Regions from separate parts of the Homo sapiens genome. Here region 2 is linked to region 1. Evidence: promoter capture Hi-C in human tissues and cell types (Jung and others, 2019). All regions are on one chromosome and are shown on one strand. The core of a region is centred on a gene start or on the middle of the fragment in contact, and the rest is flanking DNA. Distances in the headings are between cores, read along the strand shown.

Region 1 (6,891 bases), core at 3,861-6,360:
GCCAAGCTCCTGTTTTCTTTCGCTATAAGACAGGTATTAATAGCAAGATGAAGGGAGGCAGGACGTTCTAAGATGGATAAACCACAGAATCCAATGTGCCTGGAGAGTGTGAACTACTGTTTGGATTAGACAGCTCTATTTTTAATCAATCATGAGTAATTATTTTTATTTTCTTAACTTTTCTTTTTGAAACAATTTCAGTCTTTAAAAAGTTGCAAAAATAGGCCGGCCATGGTGACTCACACCTGTAATCCTAGCACTTCGGGAGGCCAAGGAGGGCGGATTGCCTGAGCTCAGGAGTTCAAGACCAGCCTGGGCAACACGGTGAAACCCCATCTCTACTGAAAATACAAAAAATTAGCCGGGCGTGGTGGTGGGCGCCTGTAGTCCCAGCTACTCGGGAGGCTGAGGCAGGAGAGTTACTTGAACCCAGGAGGTGGAGGTTGCAGCCTGGGCAACAGAACGAGACTCCATCTCCAAAAAAAAAAAAAAGTTGGGAAAATAGTAAAAAGATTTTATATAAGCTTTTACTGATACTCAAAATGTTAACACTTATTTAAGTATAAGTATCAAAATCACGAAATTAACACTAATACAATGTCATTGTATCAATGTAACACTGATACAATGTTTATCTGATCTACACAATGTATTCTAATTTCACCAATTGTCCCACTATTGTTCTTTTTCCAGCCCAGGCTCTAATCCAGGATGTCACATTGCATTTCATTGTCAGGTCTCCTTAGTCTCTTTTAGTATGGAACAGTTCCTTAGTGTTTGTCTTTCATGAACTTGACACTTAATAAACTGTCCCTCAATTTCAGTCTGTCTGCTCCCTCCTCATGATTAAATTCAGGTTATGCATTTGGTAAGAATATCACAGAAGTGATGTTGTATCCATCTCACTACATCATATTAGGAGGTACATAATGTCTGGTGATATCCCAAAGGTTTCTCCACTGTACAGTTATGAATTTCAAAGGGAGAATAGTATCCTCTGAAGACTTTGAAATGATATATCTTTTTGTTATTTTGTTACTTCTATTTTTTAAGAGATGATGTAAATATCCTTTTTCTCATCACACTTTCACCCACTAATTTTAACATTCATTGATGATTCTTGAATGAAACCACCATAATTTAAAATTAGAATAACAGTGAAGAGAAACATAAACCTATGAAAATTACCTAAAAAATGGGAATGTCCCTTGATCCTCTCTTTCTCAGAGAGCAGGTGGAAGTCATAAGCTGTCCATTTATTTCTTTCAATTATTAATGAGTCCTGGGCTTCCATTGAATGGCCTGGGCCCTACAGACCTTTGAGAGTGCTGTGTCTTATGACTTTGGTTGGTTGAGTAATATGGCCTTGTGGCATCCATATTTTAGACTCTGCATAAACCCTTAACCCTACACTCCATGCTAACAGATCTTAGATTTTTCTGTACTAATTTGCACAGGACCTGCTCATCCTGGCACATGTGGTATCACTTGGGCTGTACCTGTTTCCATTTTCTTCTCCATTTTTACAAATCAAATACTTCCCACAAGTCTCAGCTTGAAGCTGTCTTCTGTGTTAAGTCATTATGGGAGCCCAGGGCTTAGCTTTTCTTTTGACATTTTTCTGCACTTAAGAATGAAGCTTGGAGCCAGCATGGTGGCTCATGCCTGTAATCCCAGCACTTTGGGAGGCTGAGGTGGGAAGATCACTTGAGTTTAGGAATTTGAGACCAGCCTGGGCAACTAAGTGGGACCTCACCTCTACAAAGGATAAAAAACAAATTAGCTGGATGTAGTTGTGCCTGCCTGTAGTCCCAGCTACTCAGGTGGCTGAGTGGGGAGGATTGCTTAAGCCTAGGAGGTCAAGGCTGCAGTGAGCTGTGACTATGCCACTGCACTCCAGCCTGGGTGACAGAACAAGACCCTGTCTCCAAAAAAAAAAAAAAAAGTTTGGGCCTCAGCATTTGTTCAATACCTCCTATAGCAGGGGGCAGACAAGGAAGGGTAATTCATATATCTTGAGAAGTTGTAAAAGAAGTGCATAAAGTCAATGAATTCTAAAACAAAAAAGAAAATAACAACAGCTCATGGAAATCCAAAGAAACCACAGAAAAGGTGGCATTTAAAATGGGCCATGAAGACTGCAGATTGTGAGCTGTGTGTGAAGGTGGGAGGCTTTGTAGGCTAAGAGAAAAGCTGGCTATGGGCATAAAGTGGTCACACTTACAGTGATATATACAAAGTGTATCTGGGGCTGAAACAGTATGCATTCTAAAGTGGTTGAGAAAAGGGATCAGAAGAGATAGGCTGAATATCTTATATAGGCCCTTATGCTGTGCACAGTGGTACCTTAGTCTGGGGTTTCAGGACAATAATTCTTGCAGGAAGACGGAAGGTGGACTGGATAAGGGTGTTATTGGAAGAATGGGCACCAATCAGTAGAGTTTCAGGTGGAAGATAATCACCCAAATGTAGGCAGCAGTTGGAAAGGGGCAGCTAGTTTTCAAGCAACCAGTGTATAATTTTTTCTCTGTGATTCTGAAATCCCAAAAGCTGAAACCAAAATTTTTTTTCCTGAGCTTGCAGAAAACATATTTGGTAGAAAAACATAACCTAAACAGATGTGAAGCTATTTATTGTCTTTGTCTTTATCTCACCTAGATTAAAAGACAGCCACAATTCTTTACTGCTCCTCCCATCCACAGGTGGTATCTGTTTCCCCTCTGCGTGACTCTGGCTGGCCTTGTCATTCATTGGCTTAGACCAATAGAATGTGGTGGAAATGAGTCCGTGTAACCTTCAGGGCTGGGCCTTAAGAGATCTGCTTCTGCATTTGCCCCTCTTAGAAAGTCTCTTCCAGTAGCCAGCTGCCAGGTAGAAGTCCAACCACCATGAGCTTATCATACTGTTAGAAAGCCCAAGTTGAAAGGGCACTGAAATGCTCAAATGGGAATGAAGACTTTTTGGACTTTCTGGCCCTGCCAAGTCACCAACTGAAAGCAGCTGAGTAAATGACTCCAATCACACCATGCAAAGCAGAAGAACCTGCCAGCCAAGCCCTTCCCAAATTCCTGACACAACAGATTTCTGAGCAAATAAAATGGTGATTTTAAGCCACTAATATTTTGTGAACATTTATTACATTGCAGTAGATAATCCAAGCATACACTTATGTCATTCATGATTTCCCTTGCAGAAAATTAGTATATTAGAGTGTCACCCCAGACCTTACCAAAGGTATTATGTAATATATGGTACATGCACATTTTACCTTTCTAAATTGAAAAACAAAATCTGAATTTAGAAATTCATCTGACCCCAGGAATTTTAAGAGAGGATTGTCCTTTGTTAATATTATGGAAATAAAGTTGTCTAGACTCCGTCTTTTACGTTCACTAAATGTCATGCATAATGCTTGAGTCTCCTCCAGCCATTTCATGTATGTATCTCTTATTTCCCCAAACTCATTAACAGTTTCTCTAAAGCAGCAGCTAACTTCAGCATGCATCAGTGTCTTTTGGAGGGCTTGTTCAAACACAGCTTCCTGGCTCCACCCTCAGAGTTTCTGATTCAGAGGGTCTGGGGGTGGGGCTTGAGACCTTGCATTTTTGATAAGTTCCCAGGGAACTTACCTGCTGTTGGTCCAAGGACCACTTTGAGAACTACTGCTCCAGGGAGAAGTGCTATATTTTAAATTTTAAGAATTTACCCACCAGCCCAAGGTGCTTACCAAATGCACATGGATGGAATCTCTCCAAATCTACATCTTTGCCATGCTTTTGAAGCCTTAACTTTTACTCCTGGAGGTCTTCCTGGCTAGGCCCTAGACTTAAAAGACACTAATTCCTTGTTTTATTTTATTAGATTGTCGTTTTTGCTTTCTTCTCAGCACACTTGATAAGACACTGTGAAGAAAATGTCCCTTCTGATCTCGTTTTTAACCTGTCTTGGAACAGATCAGCAGAAATGCCTTCACTGTGAATCAAAGATACCCTCGATTTATAGCCAAAGATTATTTCCTTTTCTTTTGGTGGCTTCCAGATAAAATGTTTCTTGCTACCCTTTCACAAAATAGAAGGAGGGACCAAGCGGAAGATAATCTTTTTGTTCAGAGGTCCATCTGTCAAAGCCTGCATTTTAGAGATGGCATTACTGAGGTCCAAAAACTAGAGCCACTCGCTCTGGGTCATACAGCCGATAAACGCACGCAGCCGAGCTCAGTTCTTCCCTGACCCTGTTACAAACTGCCTCACTAAATGAGGACCCCCATCCCCTTCCCATGCCAGGAAAGCACAGCTCATTTGTCCTAAAGTTAACATTACACAAATCACACCCTTCAAGCCTTCTTGAAACATTTTTTTTCCCCGAGGGTGACGGGACGGTTACGCTGATTCATCCTGGCCAGGGACCCCAAACATCTCCCCTCCTCCGGCCCAGGCGCCGTCACCCAGGCTCCACCGGTCCGCGGGACAGAGCCGCGGAGAGCGCCTGGAAGCGTCGCGCCCTCAAAGCCAAGCGATTAAGTTGGTTCCTCAAATTGTTCCCGACAGGAGGGGCAGGAAATAACACCGGGCTCTGGCGGCGGCCGCAGCAGGAGGGGGAGAAGAGCGGGCCGTCTCCCGGGCAGTGCTGGCGGCCTCTCATCGATCTCGGGTCTAAGGTCCGGCCGGGTCATCATTCCTGCCATTTCCACAGCATTCGAGGTACCACATCACCCCCTGCCTCGGTCGTCGCTCAGTCATTCCCTCCGCGCCGAGTCCTGGAGCGGCGGAGTCCCTGGAGGCCTGGGTTTCCTTAAGGGGCCCCAATGCCCGCAGCCCCCGACCCGCCCAGGTGGAAGGAAACAGGCTGCGGGCCTGGGCCAGGCGGGGCCTGACAGAAGTAAAGGCCGGGAGGGGGAGCGGAAGACGGCCAGAAGGACCCCTGCGCCCTCTCCTCCGCGCCGCCCGCCAGGCTGCCAACCCAGCCACCCTGGGTGCGACGCGGCGCCTTCTCCGCCGCTGGGAGTCGGGCAACAGGTGAAGAGGGCGGGCGTCCGCGGCGCCTCCGCGGGGCGGTCCCTCTCCTGCCCGCCTCCCGCCCGCCCCTCTCCCCGCCCCCTCCCCTCCTCCGGGCCTCCACCGCCTTCCCCGGCTGCCCGGCAGCCTCCCCTCGCTCGCTCTCCTCTTCCTCTAGGGCCCCAGCGCAGCTCGGGAGCCCGCGCACCGAGGCGCTAGGGGCACCGCGCACTAGAGGGACACCCGCCGCGCCTGGACAGCCCCCGGCGGGCGCCCCCCTCGCACCTCCTGCCCCGCGCGGGCCGCGCTCCCCTCCCCCGCGCCTGTGTCCCCAGGGCGCAGGGCCGCGCGTCCAGCCCCAGACCCGCCGGGGTCCCTGGGGACGCGCCAGCCCGGCAGTGGCTCGACGATGGAGGAGCCGCAGCGCGCCCGCTCGCACACAGTCACCACCACCGCCAGCTCCTTCGCAGAGAACTTCTCCACCAGCAGCAGCAGCTTCGCCTACGACCGGGAGTTCCTCCGCACCCTGCCCGGCTTCCTCATCGTGGCCGAGATCGTGAGTGCCGACGGGCCGGGGGTGGCGGGGGGCTCAGCTGGACCCCGGCGCGTGCTTCCGCCGTGCTTCTCGGGATGGAGCCTGCTCAGATCTTCCCGCGGGCTTTAGGGAACCGTTTTTGCTCAGCCTCGCCTTCTTCCCAAAGTGAAAGACTCTAAACAAGGTCCAGGAAACTCGGGCTGTCCTGGGAAGAAAGGGTTGTGATCCTCAGGATGTCTTGCTGTGGGAGAAATTCAGCTTGTTGGGTCCTCTCGGTGGCGGCGGCAGATCCTGGGAGCAGGAAGCTTGGCTTAGTGGCTATTGAGTTTGTGTTGAGTGTCAGAGACACCTGGTGCCTTTCTCACCTGATCTCCACGTGGATGGCCTCCTCCCTGAAAATAAAGCTTCCTAAGATCAGGGGAAGAGGAAAGGGCTTCTTTCTTTTCCTAATTATCTCCCTGGTAGTAACATTGAGGTGAGTCAGGAAAATTTTACTGAATAAAATCTGAGTGCCATAACCTATTTTAGGACCAAAGAGGTCTTTTGCATGGTGCTGTGCACATCCTGGTTTAGGCTCAGAACATTCCTGGGAAGGAGGCAGGGCATGGGCGTTCTTCTCTTCATTGGAGGGCATAGAGGCTGAAAACTCACGTGATCTTCCCAGAAGTCCCAGCCAGTCCTTCATAGCTGAGAAAGGACTGGAGTCCTGTCAGCAGTTAGAGGTGGTCACTGTTTGAGTCTTCTTCGTGTACCAGGATCTTGTCAAGCCCTTTAGATGTCCTCATACCCTCGTGTAATCCAACGACCACCCTCCCCTGTGAAGGCCTAGAGAGGGGACGTAAATCACACCGGTGGATGGTGAAGCATGGATTCAAACCCAGGCCTGCCTTTCTGCAGGGCCGTGCTCATAACTGCAAGCAGTTGAGACAGCTTCCAGCTGCCCCAGCAGTGCCCCTCTGTCATCTCTCACAGACTTTTGTTAAATATTTGGGAATTGAAAATGAGCCTATGTGGGAGTTAGAGAATGGGCACACCATCATGGTGCAGAAGTGACTGAAGACCTGGGCGGTTCCTTTGAGAAACCTGAAGTAAATCTTGTGTACCTCAAGTAGCTTGCTTGCTCCCCCAGTCTCAGATACCACCCGGACCTGCTCTATGAAGCCCCTGGTGGTCATAATGCACATAAGGTATGAGAAGTGTTGGCTTAGCTCCTCTCCCAGCTGGTTCCCTCAGCGAGTATTGAGGACTTCAGGAGACTCAAAAGCTGAAGGTATTGGAATCGCCTTGCAGGGCCTAGCTTTTAGGAGTTCAACAAATATTTGCTGTGCAAATGAAGGAGTTGGCAGGCTCCTCTGCTTCAGC
Region 2 (6,567 bases), core at 2,156-4,655, 690 kb before region 1:
ATATTGTGGGTTAAATAAACCAGATAAAGTCTTTATTTTCTTTTATTATGCATTGAATCCTGACAAAATGGTCAGCTCTTTAGTTATAGAATCATTCCATGTAATAATGGCAGTATTCCTGTGAATCCTAAAACAGTATGCTGTAATGATCTCACAAGATGTTTTTGCTTTTAAAAATGTGTGCTGTTTTAAAAACAAATCTTTGTCCATCAGTGTGCCTTTAAAAAAATCTATTACAGTGAGCAGGGTTTGTTGAAGACATTGACACTTAAAGCATTTGCACGGGGCGCGGTGGCTTATGCCTATAATCCCAGCACTTGGGAGGCCGAGATAGGCGGATCATGAGGTCAAGAGTTCCAGACTAGCCAGTTTGAGACCAGCCTGGCCAACATGATGAAACCCTATCTCTACTAGAAATACAAAAATTAGACGGGCTGAGGCAGGAGAATTGCTTAAACCCAGGAGGCAGAGGTTGCAGTGAGCCGAGATTGCACCACCGCACTCCAGCCTGGGTGACAGAGCAAGACTCTGTCTCAGGGAGCGGGGGGGGAACATTGCATATGCTCTTAATTTTTAAAATTTAATAACCTTGTTCCATATAAGTTTAATTGCAATCCCAAGATGATTTTTACTCTAGACCATCGCTAAAGAAGGCTTTTATTTTAATATGCTAAGCAGCTTTATGGCATTTGAAGGAACAGGATAATGAAACTGTGAAGTAGATGAAATAAATCTAATCTTAAAACTGTAAAGGCCAGTCATAAGTCATGAGTTTGAGGAGCAACTAAAATCTTTTTAAATAAGGATTTTTTTCTAAAGTTGTTAAAATGAATCAGTCACTTCATTAGAAAGGAAGATCTTTTCACCTGTTTAAATACTTTATTTTGGCTGTTAAAATAATTTACTGCATTTCAATGAAGTGTCAAATAGAAACAGCTGTTATATGAAAGGTTTTCCTTTTGGAATAATCATTCTGGACATTTGAAAAGAGTATGTAACATTAAGTGATGTTATAACTGTGTAAGAATCACAACATAATATACAGTTATAAATAAATTTTAAATAAATTGAAGTATATTTAACATACAACTTGCATATATAATGGGCTGTCATATTCTATATATAATTATAAAACTTAATGATAAATACTTGTGAACCTCCTAGCCAACCACAAAACCAGAACATTACCAATTTTACATCTGGCTGTGTTTCTTCTTTAGCCTGTCCCCTTAGTTTCCCCCTTAGCACTAGGCAACATTATGCTGAATTTTGTTTAACGTTTCCATTGCTATCTTTTAATAAAACTCTCATATGTATATATCTGTAAACCAAGCTTGTCCACCCTGCAGCCCAGAGCGGCTTTGAATGTGGCTCAACACAAATTTGTAAACTTTCTTAAAACATTAGGAGTGGTTTTTTTTTTTTTTTTTTAAGCTCATCAGCTATCGTTAGTGTATTTTATGTGTGGCCTAAGGCAATTCTTCTTCCACTGTGGCCCAGGGAAGCCGAAAGATTGGACACCCCTGCTGTGAAAACAATATATTGCTAATTTTTGCTTTGTTTGGAGCTTAAAAAATGGTATTAGCTTATTTATCCTCCTCTTTGACTTTCATTTATACATCTGTTAGTTGACAGACATTTGAATATCCAGTTTTTTTTCTATTGTGAAACATGCTACTATGAACATTAAAACTGTTTTCTGATGCATATGTGTGGATGTTTGCTGGGGTATATACCTGGGAGTGGGATTTTGTCAAAATATGCTTCAGTTATTTATGAAAATATACCACTCCAAAACTTAGTGACAAAACAGCATTTTATTATTTCACAATTTTGTGGGTTGAGTGGGGAGTCCTTCAGCTTCATGTGTCAGCTGAGGTGCTGAGATGATTGTAGTCACCTGGAGGCTCAATAGGCTGTAGTCAGCTGGGACTAGAATGTTTGGGATGCCTGGACAGCTGAGAGTCATCTGGAATCTTGTTCCATTGGGACCTCAGCTGGGGCTTTTGGCTCCTCCATGTGACTGCTTAGTCTGCCTCAGCATTGCAGCGGGGTTCTGAGAAAGAACATTTCAAAGGGGGAGAAAGCTGCCAGGTCAACTAAGGGTTAAGCTTGGAATAGACACAAGTAACTTCAGCTATATTTTGTTGTTCTCAAAATACACACAGACCTAGCTCAATGTTGAGAGGAGATGCATATACAGGTAGGGGCAGAATTGTTTAAGGTCATCTTTGGAAACACTTACCACAATGTGTTTATCATTTTTATCTCCCGTAAAATATCTGTTCATGTCTCTCCCAAAGTTTTAGACTGGGTTGTTTAGTCTCACTAATTTAGTAGGAGGTTATATGTATATGTATTTTGCATCCTAAGTCTGGGTTAAATTTGTTGCAGATATCTTATTCCAGTTTGTGCCTAATTGGTCCTTAAAGCAATCCTATTAGATATTTTATTGCCCCCATTTTACAGATGAGAGAGTACTGCTTAGTATGTTAAAAGGAAAGGCCTTGAAGTCAGCCTCCAGGGTGACATTTTTGTTACAAAGAATAGCATTTGCAAAGGTGTACAATTATGAATCAGCATGATGCTTTGCTCAACCTACCTGTTGTACCCCTTCCCCTCCAAATAATTGAGGCTTGGAAGAATTTACAAGTATTTTTATTTACTTATAAATTTTTATGTAACTGTGACTTTTGCTATGAGTGGACTGAGGACGTTTGATGTGAGAGGACTTGCCTGGAGTGACAGAGTAGGCAGTAAGTTCAGCCCCAAGTTCTTTCTAGTCTTATCTGCCCTCCTTATTCCTCAATTTTTTTTCCCTAAATTATTCGTTTGGATCAACCAGGTTCTGCCAGCATATTCAAAATCCATCTTAAATGTAGTGGCGAAATATTTTGCAAAATTATAATAGAAGCCAGAGATTTATAATTAATATTCAAATGTTTGCATTATATACTTTAAAAAGAACATTGCAGGTCGGGTGCGGTGGCTCACACCTGTCATTTCCACACTTTGGGAGGATCACTTGAGGTCAGGAGTTCGAGACCAGTCTGGCCAATATGGTGAAACCCCGTCTCTACTAAAAATACAAAAAATCAGCCGGGCATGGTGGTGCATGCCTGTAATCCCAGCTACTCGAGAGGCTGAGTCACAATAATTGCATGAACCCTGGAGGCGGAAGTTGCAGTGAGCTGAGATCGTGCCACTGCACTCCAACCTGCATGACAGAACGAGAGTCCATCTCAGAAGAACGCTGTAGGCACGCATCAAGTACAACTCAGTTGGTTTAAACTGAAATGCCACAGAACAATTCTGAATTCCAAAATGCAAAGCTTTGGATAAAACAGCCTGAACAAGTACAAAAAGACAATAAATTTGTAGACACTTCTTCCCAACCTTCAAATTAGGAAGATTTGTTCTGTGTAAAAGTATAGTTTCTGATCCTTAAAATTCTATGTGTTGAAGGCACCTCAGCATATCTCTGCAGTGTAAAAGCAGTGCTTCAGGCAGCATGACTTATTTTCATGTCACCTCAGATTTCTTGGATCTAATATTCAAAGACAGAGTGGAAATAATAATACTTAGTGGAAGGATTCTTGGACATGTAATGAAATGCAGAGCATCTTGAGACTTTTGACCAAGTAATGTTTGGTCATTTACCTTCCTGTTTGGTTGGAACAGGAGTGGTGATTCCAGCCATTGCATGATTGAGCCTCATTTGTTTTTATTCTTTCCTGCCCCGAATTCTTCCATTTTAAGTGTCTTAAAGAGGTAGTTATTCTTGCCTAAGAAGTAAACTAAAGTATAACATATTTGCTATAATAATGCTGATATAATGTTACTGTGATAAAGTATAAGTGTCAAGTAGTTTGGCAAAAAGATTTCACCAGGTTGAGCATAGTAACACAGGGAAAATGAGCCATTTAAAACAGGGAAAAAAAATGTTTCTGTGAAACCGGGGAGAAAAAAACAGCCATTTTTTTCCCTGTTTTACAAATGACTCATTTGTAAAATAGGGAACAAAATGAGCCCATTTAAAATTTAATAAATGTATTTTTAACATTTGTATTCTCAAAATAAATTTTAAAATAGAGTATACCAAACATGCTATTCTCTGAGGAGTTTAATGCATGTTATTATTTTACAGAAATTTAAGTTATTTTAAATATGTTAAGGATGGTAAAGCTTCCCTATAGTTCAGTATTGACCACCTCTCCTCAACCTGTCTCTAAAGGTAGGAGAAAACTGATTTATTCTCCTTGTATTCTCTTCTTTCTCTGCTCCGTCATTAGTTTGCTGATATTTTCTGTTCGGAAAGGGGGTGAAGAACCTTCCCCCCTTTGAGGGAGATAAGTTTTGGTTTCCCTGTAATATGGAACAAACTTCATACCTGGCGAGCACAAAGAAATTATTATTTTGCCAAAGTATGTTCTGCAGACCACATATTCCAGAAATTACACTTCTAAGCAAAATAATCTTTGATAATTTGAATTTGGGAAAAAAACTGCTTACTACATTCTTTGATACTGATATGCAATACACATTACCATGTTACAGTCTTAAGAAGTTGTTCAGTTAACTGTTAATTTTATTTAATCTGGTATTTACCGTATTTAATTTATGAATCACTGTAAGATTTTAATTTTTTTTTAATTAATGTTCCATGCAATTCATGGAAAAGACTGATGTAGATGTTTTATTTGATAGATGAGGAGCCTGAGGCCTAAGGCTAAGTAACTTTACCAAAGTCGTAGAGATAATAAAACTAGGACTGACTTTCTTCAGTGTTTTAAATCTTTTTATTTGTTTATTTGAATTACTGCATTAGGAACAAGTATATCCACATTAGGAACATACTTTTTTTTTCAAATGGGACAGTTGAGTATCTGCTCATTGATAGCATCCCCCCTGATTCTCCTGATTTGTCTTGGTGACTAAGTTGAGTATTATACCACTAACTTCTATGATAGTTAAGTTCTCAGGCCTGTATACATTGCTTATTTTGAGTGATTGTTTTATTTTAGTTTACCTTGTGCTGTTGCTTTCCACCGAGACTGTCCTCAGAAAGTTGGTCATTTTGCTTATGAGTTTATTAGTTGTCCAACCACTTTGGCTCTTTCATCACACCAACTTGTGGGCCATGGGATATTATTACTATGGATAATGCTTGTTAGTTATACATTTTATATTTATAGTATATGACTATGGGTCTGACTTAAACGTGTATTATGTATTTCTATATCTAATAATTGTTAGAAATCCTCTTTATATAGTATAATGCATAATCATATGTCTAATTTAGATAATATCTAGTAACAATAAAGAAATGTAAATATAACATGTTTACATATAATATTTATTGGAGATTTGTTTCTATAATATATGAATAGTTATGCCGGACTTAAATATATGTTATACACGTTGTGCGTGCGTTATATAAAGAGAAAGAACACTTGTGCCCATCCCTTCTGCCTACATTATTTAGATTTCCATCTCTATTGGGCTTAGCTGAGCAAAGTGTCACCGGATAGTTTTAATTGATCAAATATACTATTTTGTATGTGATCTTAGATTTTTTTTTCAGATTTTTTTAGTGCCATTAAAATGCTCTAACAGCCTCTTATTTTGTTGTAATTTTTTTTGTTGTCAGTTGCTTTTTCTTTTTTCCAATTAGTTTAGTAAATGTCCTTTATAAATCAGAATAGACCCTCCTTTTTCAAATGGATACTGATAAAAATTGACAGCTGTCACTGCCAGTTAAGGCAGAAATTAAGAGATGGTACTAAAATAGGAATCCTGTTTTCAGTTAATGTGTGTTTAAAAGTTTTGCCCTGTGTGTTCTTTTTTGATTTGCACATGCATCTGACTTTAAATTGGAAGATGCAGAGTAGCTCTAAGGAGTCTTCAAGACATTTTTGCAGCCTTTAAACAACCTTTGGTTTTCTCTCTGTGTTGCTCAAAGTAGAGAGACAGGTACTTTGTTATCTGAAGCTTATGACATGCTCTCTGCTTCAATCAAAATGACCACCCATCAGTTGCAAGAGCAGAGAGAGAGGTTTGTGAGAGTAGTCTGAGATCCAGTTGCAACTGTACAGTGTCACATTTATGGTGGTATGACATTTGTGAGTCTTTCCCTTCAGAGTTAACCTAGTAAAAAAAGTTATTCTCATATATCATTAGTAATCCTTATGAATTTCTATCATTGTTTTCCTGCTGTTACTTAAACACTGATAGGAATTTATGTAATCATATTAGGCTTGAGCATAACTCTCTCATGAGTTTCCATATTTTAAGTTATAAAATTGGCTATGTTTAATGTGATTATCTAGACAGTGCTCGTGTGTATCACTTGGTGAGATTGAATTTAGGCTGTTTTTTTCGTTCTATTGAAGGGGGATTTTTTTTTTCCATGTGTTACTTTTAATAGAGTTCATCAGTCTGGCATCCTTTTGTTTTTGATCCTGCCACTAGATGGCAGGAGCAATAAAAGGTAGATTGAAATGCCAACTTTAGTTGGCCTTAGCTGCTTTGTACTTTACCTTGGTTGTTCTCTGTCCCTATTAGTGC

What was found. Contacts are between HindIII fragments. The study calls those that stand out against the background at their distance.
Region 2: a contact is called between a fragment that was not itself captured here and the fragment with the promoter of CMTM8 in region 1, in 1 of the 25 tissues and cell types used here (mesenchymal stem cells).

Annotation. Positions count from the first base shown.
Region 1 is chr3:32,233,570-32,240,460 of GRCh38, forward strand. It overlaps CMTM8 (CKLF like MARVEL transmembrane domain containing 8), which reads left to right and starts at 5,111. Exons shown (of 4, transcript NM_178868.5): 1 at 5,111-5,550. The coding sequence starts at 5,404. RefSeq lists a silencer at 4,915-5,124. The HindIII fragment of the contact is 9,285 bases long and covers 1,082-6,891 here.
Region 2 is chr3:31,544,402-31,550,968 of GRCh38, forward strand. All of the region lies in intron 1 of STT3B (STT3 oligosaccharyltransferase complex catalytic subunit B), which reads left to right. Among named protein-coding and RNA genes, the nearest start is that of STT3B, 15 kb to the left of the region's middle. RefSeq lists an enhancer at 3,034-3,203. The HindIII fragment of the contact is 3,366 bases long and covers 1,723-5,088 here.